Linked DNA regions of Homo sapiens: region 2 is linked to region 1. The links are contacts of gene promoters, found by promoter capture Hi-C in human tissues and cell types (Jung and others, 2019). All regions are on one chromosome and are shown on one strand. The core of a region is centred on a gene start or on the middle of the fragment in contact, and the rest is flanking DNA. Distances in the headings are between cores, read along the strand shown. Region 1 holds the start of MYPOP (Myb related transcription factor, partner of profilin). Region 2 holds the start of NAPA (NSF attachment protein alpha).

Region 1 (4,830 bases), core at 1,651-4,150:
ACCTGTAATCCCAGCTACTCAGGAGGCTGAGGCAGGAGAATCACTTGAACCTGGGGAGGCGGAGGTTGCAGCAAGCCAAGATTTCGCCACTGCACTCCAGCCTGGGCAACAGAGCAAGACTCCGTCTCAAAACAAAAAACAAAACAAAAAAAATAGTAAGTCCAAATTCCTGACCTTGACTTCCAAGCCACGTGTAATCTAATTCTGGCACACTCATTAACTCCTGGTCAATATTAACTCTTGTTATTGCTGGGCAATCTTGCTCAGTGGTTAAGTGCCATGGACTGGGGGTTGGACGCACACTTATGCTTGAGTCCTGACTCTGTCACTTACTTGCTGTGTGACCTTGGGTGGGTGAATGAACCTCTCTGAATCACATAATCTTGAACTGTCTTGTTTGATCATGCCCATGTTCCTCCCCTTCTCCAAACTCTTCAGTGGCTTCTCATAGCAGTCAGGATAAAATCCAAACTCCTCACCTTGGCCTAAAGGCCCAGTATGGTCTGGCCTTTGCTGACCTCTCTGAACTCATCTCAAAATGTTACTTTTCTTCAACCTTTCCACTCTACACTCTTTTCCCCGCAACTTCTTTTAGTTTCCCAAACTGGCCAAGCTTTCTTGCCTCCAAGCCATTGTACATGCTGTTCCCTCTACCAAAAATACTTTCCCAGTTCTTCATTCTTACTCTTTGCATCTCAGCTCTGATGTCCCCTCCTCCAGGAAGCCCTCCTGGACCACCCCCCCCCCCACCGAAATCAGAAACCCTCTCTGGGCTCCCACAGTCCCTGGGATCCCCTACCCCAGCCCTGCTCCCTCAAGTCATCACCGTCTTCCCCACCCCCCTACTAGACTGGCTCAGTCATCCATGTGTCCCCAACCTCATCGAGCATGGGGCAGGTGCTCAGGGAACGGCTGTAGAAGAAATAATCCAGAATCAAGGCTAAGCAGGAAGTTTCTGTAGTCAGCTCTCCACACCTCTATCCAAGGCATGACCTTGGGAAAATTACCAAACATGTCTGAGTCTTTTATTTATGAAATAGTGAAATAGTATGCATCTTACCGCATTGATGATTCTATCAAGAACTAACAATGAGAGTTGAGGAGGTGCTGAACTAAGCAACTTACCCATATTAGCTCATTTAATCTTCACAGCAACGCTTTGAGGTGCAGACTATTTTTATCTCCATTTTACAGATGCAGCAACTGAAGTACAGTAACTTACTCAGATGACACAGTTCAGTGGCAAAGTTGTGATCGGAGCCCAGGCAGCCTGCCTCCAGAGTCACTACTCGACACTGCATTTAATGAAATCCTGCCTGTGCTGATGACCCCAGGTGTGGACCTGAGTCAGGCCTCCTAAATCTGGTTCCATTCCTGGCTCTTGACAGTTACTAGCTATCGGAACTGAGGCAAGTCATTTCATTTTTCTGAGCTTCAGTTTCCCTAGCTATAAAATGGGGCGAAGGACAGCATCCACCTCACAGGGCTGCAGCAAGGCTTTGATGAGACATGTAAAAGGCTTGCAACAGCGCAGGCACACAGCCTACTCTGAAGACACTCACCTGCACGTCGGTCCTCCCGGCGGTCTTCCGACAACACGTAGCGCTGAGGGCAGGCGCTTGGGGGCGGCGGCTGTGAAGAGGGGGCCGCAGGGGGCTCCTCCGCCCCAGCACCTGCCCCCGGCGCCGCCACACCTGGCCCCAGGATGGCAAAAATGGTCTCCTCTTCCGCGGAGAAAGCGTCCTCCGCGGCGGGCCCGGCGCCCTGCGTGGAGTGCGGCACGCGAGCGAGCTTCTCCTTGGTGCGGCGCTTGAAGTCGTTCCAGCGCTTCTGCACCTCCTGGCCCGTGCGCTTCCAGCTGGTGATACCGTTGATCTTGGCGGCGATGCCGTCCCACACGCGCCGCCGCTCTGCCACGCTCACCCGACGGCTCTGCGCGCCGTAGAGCTGCGGGTAGTGGGCGCGCACCTCGCGGATCAGGATCTGGTTCTCTTCGAATGAGAAGCGCGGCTTGCGCAACCGGGTGGTTTCCTCCGCTTCGCCCGCCGCCGCCGAGGCCATGGCGCCCCCCGACGCCGCCGTCCTGCCGTCTGGCGCATGGGGGGCGCCGGCGCTGCGGGCAAAGGGCGCACGGGGCTGGCTGGGGTTCGGGGTCCCCCCGCCGCCGCCTCTCCCAGACCGCCGGGCCGAGAGCTCCTTAGTCCCCGGGGGCAGGAGTGGGGGCGGGGGGCGGGCGGGGGCGACGGGCACCCGGGTAAGTCGGAAGCGCCTAAGAGTAGCTGACACCGGCTGAGCGCTTGGCTCGGACTTCGCGCGGCGCGAAGTGCCACGCTGAAGAGTTGATAGAAATTGGGGGAGGGTCTGGAGGGATGGAAGGAAAGGAGGAAAAGTGCGAGGAGAGGAGGTGTCTGCAGGAGTTAGAGAATGGGGGCACGGGAGGATAGGAAATGGAGGGAGGATGGGGGTGCCTCGGGGGGGTCTTAGATGCATGAAGATAAGGAGATGCGGAAGGGGGGATGCAGCAAGAAGGGGGGAATCTGGAGCAGAGGAGGCGCTCTAGGGGCTCTAGGGGGCAACGGGGCGTCTGTAAGACCGATATGAGAAGGGCCCTTAGAGGGATGTCCAGGAATAATGGTGAGGTGGGAGCTCCTGTATCACTGGAAGAGCTGGAACGATCAAATATTAGGGATCAGGGTCTGCGAGGATTGTGGGGGCTCTGGGGATTGCCAGAAATTAAGGGGAGCTCTGGAAATAACGGGGGTCCCGTATCACAAGGAGACAACGGAGGCTACGGGGGACGGCAGGGAGAGCGAAGGTCGCGGAGGGTGGGGACCGAGTCGGGCCACGGGTCACTCACCGGCTCCGCCGCAGCCGCCGGTGGGTCAGGGCTCGGGCTTCTGCGGCCTGTTCCCACCCCCCGCCTCCCTCCCTCCCCTCTTTCGGCCCCGCCTCCGGCCGCCCCGCATGCCAAGGCGCAGGCGCGCCCAGGGCCAGTCGGCCCCAATGCCCTTACCGCCAGGGTTTCATTCCCACCTACCCCAGCACAGCGCAGGCGCAGAACTGCGCTCCGCCGAGCCCCACCAGCAGGCCGCAACTGCGCAGCCGCAACGTTAGCGCCGCGCGGGTACCCCAGCTTCCTGGGGCCACAACGGCGCACGCGCAAAAACTCCATCGCGCGCATGCGCGTGCCTCGGGTTGTACCCGGTACCGGGTCTCGGCGCAGGCGTTGCGAGCTTGGATGGGAGAGATGCTGGGAGCGCGCCAGTACCCAACCTTTCGGACAGTCTTCCAGCCCACCCTGCCCTCTAACCAAAGGGGAGGGAGACAGCGCTGAAGGGAAGCGCTTTGTCTCCTTGACAACTGTGTGGGTGGGGTGGAGGCGTGAGGAAACCGCTTTGCCTCCTGGCTTGCCCGCCCCTGCGCTGGGCCGCTCCAGAGCTTCCCACCTCGCACCCCTAGAGGCTGGGCGTCCTGGGGATGTCCCGCCCCGGGCGGATGCAGTAACCATAGCGACCCACAAGCCTTCCAGTCACGCCTTGGGGGCCCCTCTGTGCGCACCTTTACCTCGAGGAGCGGGGAAAATAAGAGGGAAGAGCTTCCTGGCTGGTAGGAAGGGAGATCCTGACGCCGGCACGACTTTAAGCAAGTGCATGGAGACAGGAATGAAGCCAGAACGCAGGTGGGGTGAGCCGCATGGCAGGATGATGGAGCTCAGTCCGGCTGAGAAGTGTGTTCGTTAGCATCCTGCAGGAGTCCTCAAGGTCATTCGACAATTGGTGCTTCATTCATCGACTCAATAAATATACATGAGCACTTACACAGTTCCTGGTACAATGAACATAAAAGCTAAAATCCGTAGCCTGGGCCGGGCGCGGTGGAGCTCACGCCTGTAATCCCAGCACTTTGGGAAGCCAAGGCGGGCGGATTACCTGAGGTCAGGGGTTCGAGACAAGCCTGGCCAACACAGTGAAACCCCATCTCTACTGAAAATACAAAAACTAGCTGGGCATGGTGGTGCATGCCTGTAATCCCAGCTACTCGGGAGGCTGAGGCACGAGAATCGCTTAACCCCGGGAGGCAGAGGTTGCAGTGAGCTGAGATTGCACCACTGCACTCCACCTGGACGACAGAGTGAGACTCCGTCTCAAAAAAAAAAAAAAAAAAAATACATGCCTGTAGTCCCAGCTACTTGGGAGGCTGAGGCGGGAGGATCGCTTGAGCCCAGGAGTTGCAGGCTGCAGTGAGCTATGATCAGGCCACTGCTCTCCAGCTTGGGCAACAGAGTAAGACCCTGTCTCAAAAGAAGAGAGAGAGAAAAAAAAGGCCCCTCTGCCTGCTGTGTGGAGGGTGGGTGGGAGGGAGCAAGACTACTGGGTAGAGTCAAAAAAAGTCATGAGCAGGGGTAAGAAAAGGATTAGGAAAGCGAGGGGAGACTAAACTAAGACAGGGACAGTGTCAAGGGGGACACGGAGAGACATTTGAGAGAATATATGGAAAGCATGGTGAGTGTCGCGCTAGCGAGGGAAAGGAAGATGTCTAGGTGAAACCCAAGTCTCTGGCCCAGGTTCTCACTTGGGGGTGTGGGGTCAGGTAAGATGTGGTGAATGTAAGGCTGGGTGCAGTGGCTCACGCCTGTAATCCCAACACTTTGGGAGGCTGAGACAGGTGGATCATCTGAGGTCAGGAGTTCGAGACCAGCCTGGCCAACATGGTGGAACCCTGTCTCTATTAAAAATTCAAAAAAAAAAAAAATAGCTGGGTGTTGTGCCATGTGCCTGTAATCCTAGCTACTCGGGAGGCTGAGGCAGGAGAATCTCTTGAGCCTAGGAG
Region 2 (4,830 bases), core at 766-3,265, 1.6 Mb after region 1:
TCCCAGGTCTCCTCTCAGTTTCCACAACCTCCCCTTGACCCTTTCGGGTCGTCCCATCAGCACAGATCCCACCACCTCCCACACCACCGCCCCCTGCCAAACTCCCTTCTCCTTCCTCTGCCCAGAGCCTCATGCTCCTCTCAACCCTACTAAGTCTTCGTGGATCCCTTTTCTGTTCCCTTTCAGCTCCTCTTAGCACACTCATGTTTCTCAGTCTCTCCCTCTCCTGACCCCTCCCAGACCTCTCCGCTCGGGCGTCCACCTTGAACCCCCATCAGCTCTCTGCACGCTCCGAACCTGTTTCCTTCTGGAAGTCACATTAACAACAGCTAACACTCTCAGAGATGTAACTCCACGCCAGGCTCAATTCTAACACTCATAGCAAATGGGAGGTAGGTTTGATTTGTGATCTCCTTTAGCAGGGAGACTAAACAATTTACCCAAAGTCATGAAGTAAGTGGCAGAGCTACTTGGGCTCTTGGCACTTCTAAGCCACTACAATTTATCACAGGATGGTCGTGTCAGCTTTTAGGAGCTAACGTGAGTTTTATGCCACGTCATATGTGTTAGTTCTGTCTCCCAGGCCTTTTCCCATCCCTCTTCTCAGCATGTCTCTGTCATCCCTATTACTCGAGGATCACACAGCAGGAATTTGATCCCCCGTTTTGGTTCTCTCAGTCCCCCTGTCTCTCCCTGTTATCCCTCCATCTCCTTGGCCAAGCCACCACCACGCATTCCCCCACCCAGGAGTCTCCAGCCTCAACCCAGGCCTCCTCAGGCTTTTTTCTTTCTTTCTTTCTTTTTTTTTTTTTTTTTTTTTGAGACAGAGTCTCGCTCTGTCCCCCAGGCTGTAGTGCAGTGGCTCGATCTCGGCTCACTGCAACCTCTACCTCCGGGTTCAAGTGATTCTCCTGCCCCAGCCTCCCGAGTAGCTGGGATTACAGGTACCCGCCACCAGGCCCAGATAACTTTTGTATTTTTAGTAGAGACGGGGTTTCACCATGTTGTCCAGGCTGGTCTCGAACTCCCCGCCTCAGATAATCTGCCCACCTCGGCCTCCCAAAGTGCTGAGACCTCCACAGTCTTGACTCCATCATCCCGGGTTCCTCCGTTCAGCTGTCCTTAAACTAGTCACTGCTAACCAGGGCCGTACTCACCCCATGCACCCCCCACACTTCAGACGCGGCTCACCGCTCCTAGGATCATCTAGCCCTGAGCCCCTCTGCCTGGTGTCAGCCCCCTTCAGCCTTCACCCTCACCGCCCAGGGCCCACGCAAATCCACTGCTCCAGGGGTTGAAAAGGTCAGTCCCTCGGGCAGGCGTCCTCAGCCCCAGGCCCCATCACTGCCGCCTGAGAGCCTTCAAACAGACTCCCCTAGAGCTCCGAAAAGCCTCTGGACCTGGCTTCTCTCCCGGACTCCCTCCGTCCCCCCAGGCCGGTCCCCTCCAAGGCTTCAGGACGTACTCCCTCGGTCCAGGTTCTCCCCCGCCCGCTGGCCTGTCTTCGGCCTGGGTCCCCTTCCTCGCCTCAAGATAGTGTCGCCTCGGTCCGTGTGTCCTCAGCCCAAATCCCTTCCGCCATGTCAGACCGTCTCTCCTCAAACCGTGTTGCCCCGGCCCAGGCTCTTGGCCCTCAGCCTGCGTCCCCTCTGCCGCCTCAGGCCATGTCACCTTATTGCAGGTTCCTCTCCGTCCCCTCGGCCCGAGCTCTGCGTGCCCTAACCCGCCACCTCCGAGCGTGACTCCTTCGTCCTCTCAGCCTAGGTCCCGGCCGACCCCTCAGCCCGGTTCTCACCCAAAGAGGCCAGAGAAGAAGGACTGCGAGTTCTTCACTTTGCGCTCCGCCTCGGCCAACAGCGCCATCGCCTCCGCTTCCTTCCCGGAATTGTCCATGGCGGCCACAAAGGGACTCAGCAAAGCGCCTGACCCTGACCCTGGGAAGACTCAGCCGCGGCCGGGCCGCGGAACACAGATCGGTAAAACTCGCCCGGCTGCGTTGACGTCGCACCGGCGCGCGTCGCTTGCGGCCAGGAACCACGTGACTAGCGCTGGCCAACCAGCGGCCTCGTAACGCCGCGCCCGCTCCGCCGGACACGCCCCCACCAGCCGCCGCACGCCGCCCGTGACTCGTGACCCCCCAATCGGCGTCAAGAGACCTCAACGCATGCGCACATACCGGCGAACGGCGCTCCACTCTCTCCCCAGCGCTCTGTACCTCACCTCCCACGTGACCCTGTGGAAGGCAATGGCAGTACCCCCCGCCGAGGCCCCGCCCCACGGTGTTGCTGCTGGATCCTCCTCCACCAATCAGCAGGAGCCCTCGGCTCGCGCTGGGGCGGGGGGTCCCCCACTCGCCCTCCCCGCGGAACTCTGGCACAGTCAGCTGACCGCAGACACTCACGTGACAGCTCGGGGCCCACGCCCGGGTTTGACAGTTCTGCGCAGAACTTAGTCCCGCCCCCGCGGCTGGTCTCGCCGGTTTCTTCACTTGGAAAGGCGTTTGTGGGAAAAGGAAACCGTTCTGCTTTTTCTTGCTCCCTCTGTCGGCCAGTACTAGAACTGCTTTGGGGAGACCGGTGAAGAGAGACTGCAAACAAAAACTTAAGAGGTTCTCTAACTCTGGTTTCATAAAAAATAGCTGAAGAGGGCCGGGCACGGTGGCTTACGCCTGTAATCCCAGCACTTTGGGAGGCCGAGGCGGGCGGATCACTTGAGGTCATGAGTTTGAGACCAGCCCGGCCAACATGGCGAAACCCCGCTCTACTAAAATACAAATATTAACCGGGTGTGGTGGCACACTCCTGTAATCCCAGCTACTGAGGAGGCTGAGAGAGGAGAATCGCTTGAACCGGGGAGGTGGAGGTTGCAACGGGCCGAGATCGTGCCACTGCACTCCAGCCTGGGCGACAGAGTGAGACTTAGTCTCAGAAAAAAAAAAAAAATAGCTGAAGAGAGCGTGTTAAAAAAAAATTCAGATTCGAAGATGGGCGCGGTGTCTCGTGCCTATAATCCCAGCTACTCGGGAGGCGAGAGGATCGCTTGGGCCCAGGAGTTTGAGTCTAGTTCAAGTCCCGCCTTGGGCAACATAGCAAGACTCTGTCTCTAAAAAAAAAAGTTTAGGCTCAAACACACCTCCTGCTGTCCCAGAAAATTGAGTTGCTGGTTTCTGAGACAGGGTCTCACTCTTTGGGTTGTTGGTTTTGGAGACAGGGTCTCGGTCTGTCGCCCAGGCTGGAGTGCAGCAGCACAATCATAGCTCACCTCAGTATAACTTTGTAGTGCCAGAAAGGAAGGAAGTATTCCACACGTGTGCTCACACACAAAATTAGGGGGTATGCCAAAGGAGCCAACTGAAAGAACTCCCAATGGCCAAAGCTGGAACAATTTGAGCATCAAAATAAAGTAGTATTGGATTATAATCCCAAACATAAAGTATCCATGAGCCTATGGTCATATAGATGAATATAGAACAAATAAATAAAGGGGGGAGAATAGACAAATAGTTTGTGCAGAAGAATTCCAAATAATCTGCGTAGATACTCTGCTCTCAAGAAGGTGAAGGATACCTCCCCATTCTGTAAGTATGGACTGTGCATAGTGACTTCCTTTCAAAGAAGAGGGTACAAGAAAGGGGAGAAAAAGCCTAAATTTACAGTGGAGAAACCTGACATTGACATCTAGGTGATTGAGGTTAACCTCAACATTGATAAGTCATGTGATTAAAATGGCTCTTTACTTCTGGGATCTTTCAATCTAATCATGAAAAAAACACTAGACAAATTCCAGTTGAGCCACATCCTCCAAAATACTTGCCCAGTACTCCTCAACACTGTTGGTGGGTGCAGTGTGTCACATCTGTAGTCCTGGTACTTTGGGAGGCCAAGGCAGGAGGATCACTTGAGGCCAGGAGTTTGAGACCAGCCTGTCCAACATGGGGAAACCCCGTCGCTACTGAAAATACAAAAAACTTAGCCCGGTGAGGTGGTGCATGCCTGTAATCACAGCTACTTGGGAGGCTGAGGCAGGAGGATCACTTGTACCCTGGAGGTGGAGGTTGCAGTGAGCGGAGATTGCCTCACTGCACTCCAGCCTGGGGGACAAGAGGGAGACTCCGTCTCAAACAAATAACACTGTCAAGTCATCAAAACAAGGAAAGCCTGAGAAACCATCACAGCCAAGGAGACGTGACTGCTAAATGTAATGTCTTACCTTCGGTGGGATCCTGGAACAGAAGGGCATTGAGTTAAAAAACCAAGGAAATTGGCCGGGTGCGGTGGCTCATACCTGTAATCCCACCACTTTGAGAGGCTGAGGCGGGTGGATCACCTGAGGTCAGGAGTTCCAGACCAGCCTGGCTAACATGGAGAAACACTGTCTCTACTAAAAATACAAACATTAGCTGGGCCTGGTGGAGGGCGCCTATAGTCCCAGCTACTCAGGAAGCTGAAGCAGAATTGCTTGAACCCAGGAGGTGGAGGTTGTGGTGAGCCGAGATTGTGCCACTGTGCTACAGCCTGGGTGACAGAGTGAGACTCCATCTCAAAACAAACAAAAACACTAAGGAAATCTAAATAAACTATGAAGTTTAGTTAATAATATTGTGCCATACTGGTTCATACGTGGTAATAAATGTACCATTCTAATATAAGATGTTAATCATAGGGGAAACTGGGGTATGTGGGAATTTTTTTTTGCTGTCATTGCAGTTTTTCTACAAATCTAAAACTATCCTAAAAATCTTCTTTAAATAAAACAGTTTCCAAGGCCGTACCCACAATGGTTCCAATTCTGAGTCTGTGGTGGGTCACAGGAATCTGCATTTTTAAAAAA

Evidence for each region. Contacts are between HindIII fragments. The study calls those that stand out against the background at their distance.
Region 2: the fragment with the promoter of NAPA here is called in contact with the fragment with the promoter of MYPOP in region 1 in 1 of the 25 tissues and cell types used here (lymphoblastoid cells).

Annotation. Positions count from the first base shown.
Region 1 is chr19:45,899,713-45,904,542 of GRCh38, forward strand. It overlaps MYPOP (Myb related transcription factor, partner of profilin), which reads right to left and starts at 2,901. Exons shown (of 3, transcript NM_001012643.4): 1 at 2,858-2,901; 2 at 1,563-2,113. The coding sequence starts at 2,061. RefSeq lists enhancers at 2,664-2,713, 3,144-3,253 and silencers at 2,904-2,953, 3,514-3,593. The HindIII fragment of the contact is 9,891 bases long and covers 1-4,436 here.
Region 2 is chr19:47,513,048-47,517,877 of GRCh38, forward strand. NAPA (NSF attachment protein alpha) reads right to left here and starts at 2,016. Exons shown (of 11, transcript NM_003827.4): 1 at 1,796-2,016. The coding sequence starts at 1,893. RefSeq lists a silencer at 1,965-2,304 and an enhancer at 2,395-2,664. The HindIII fragment of the contact is 27,973 bases long and covers 1-4,830 here.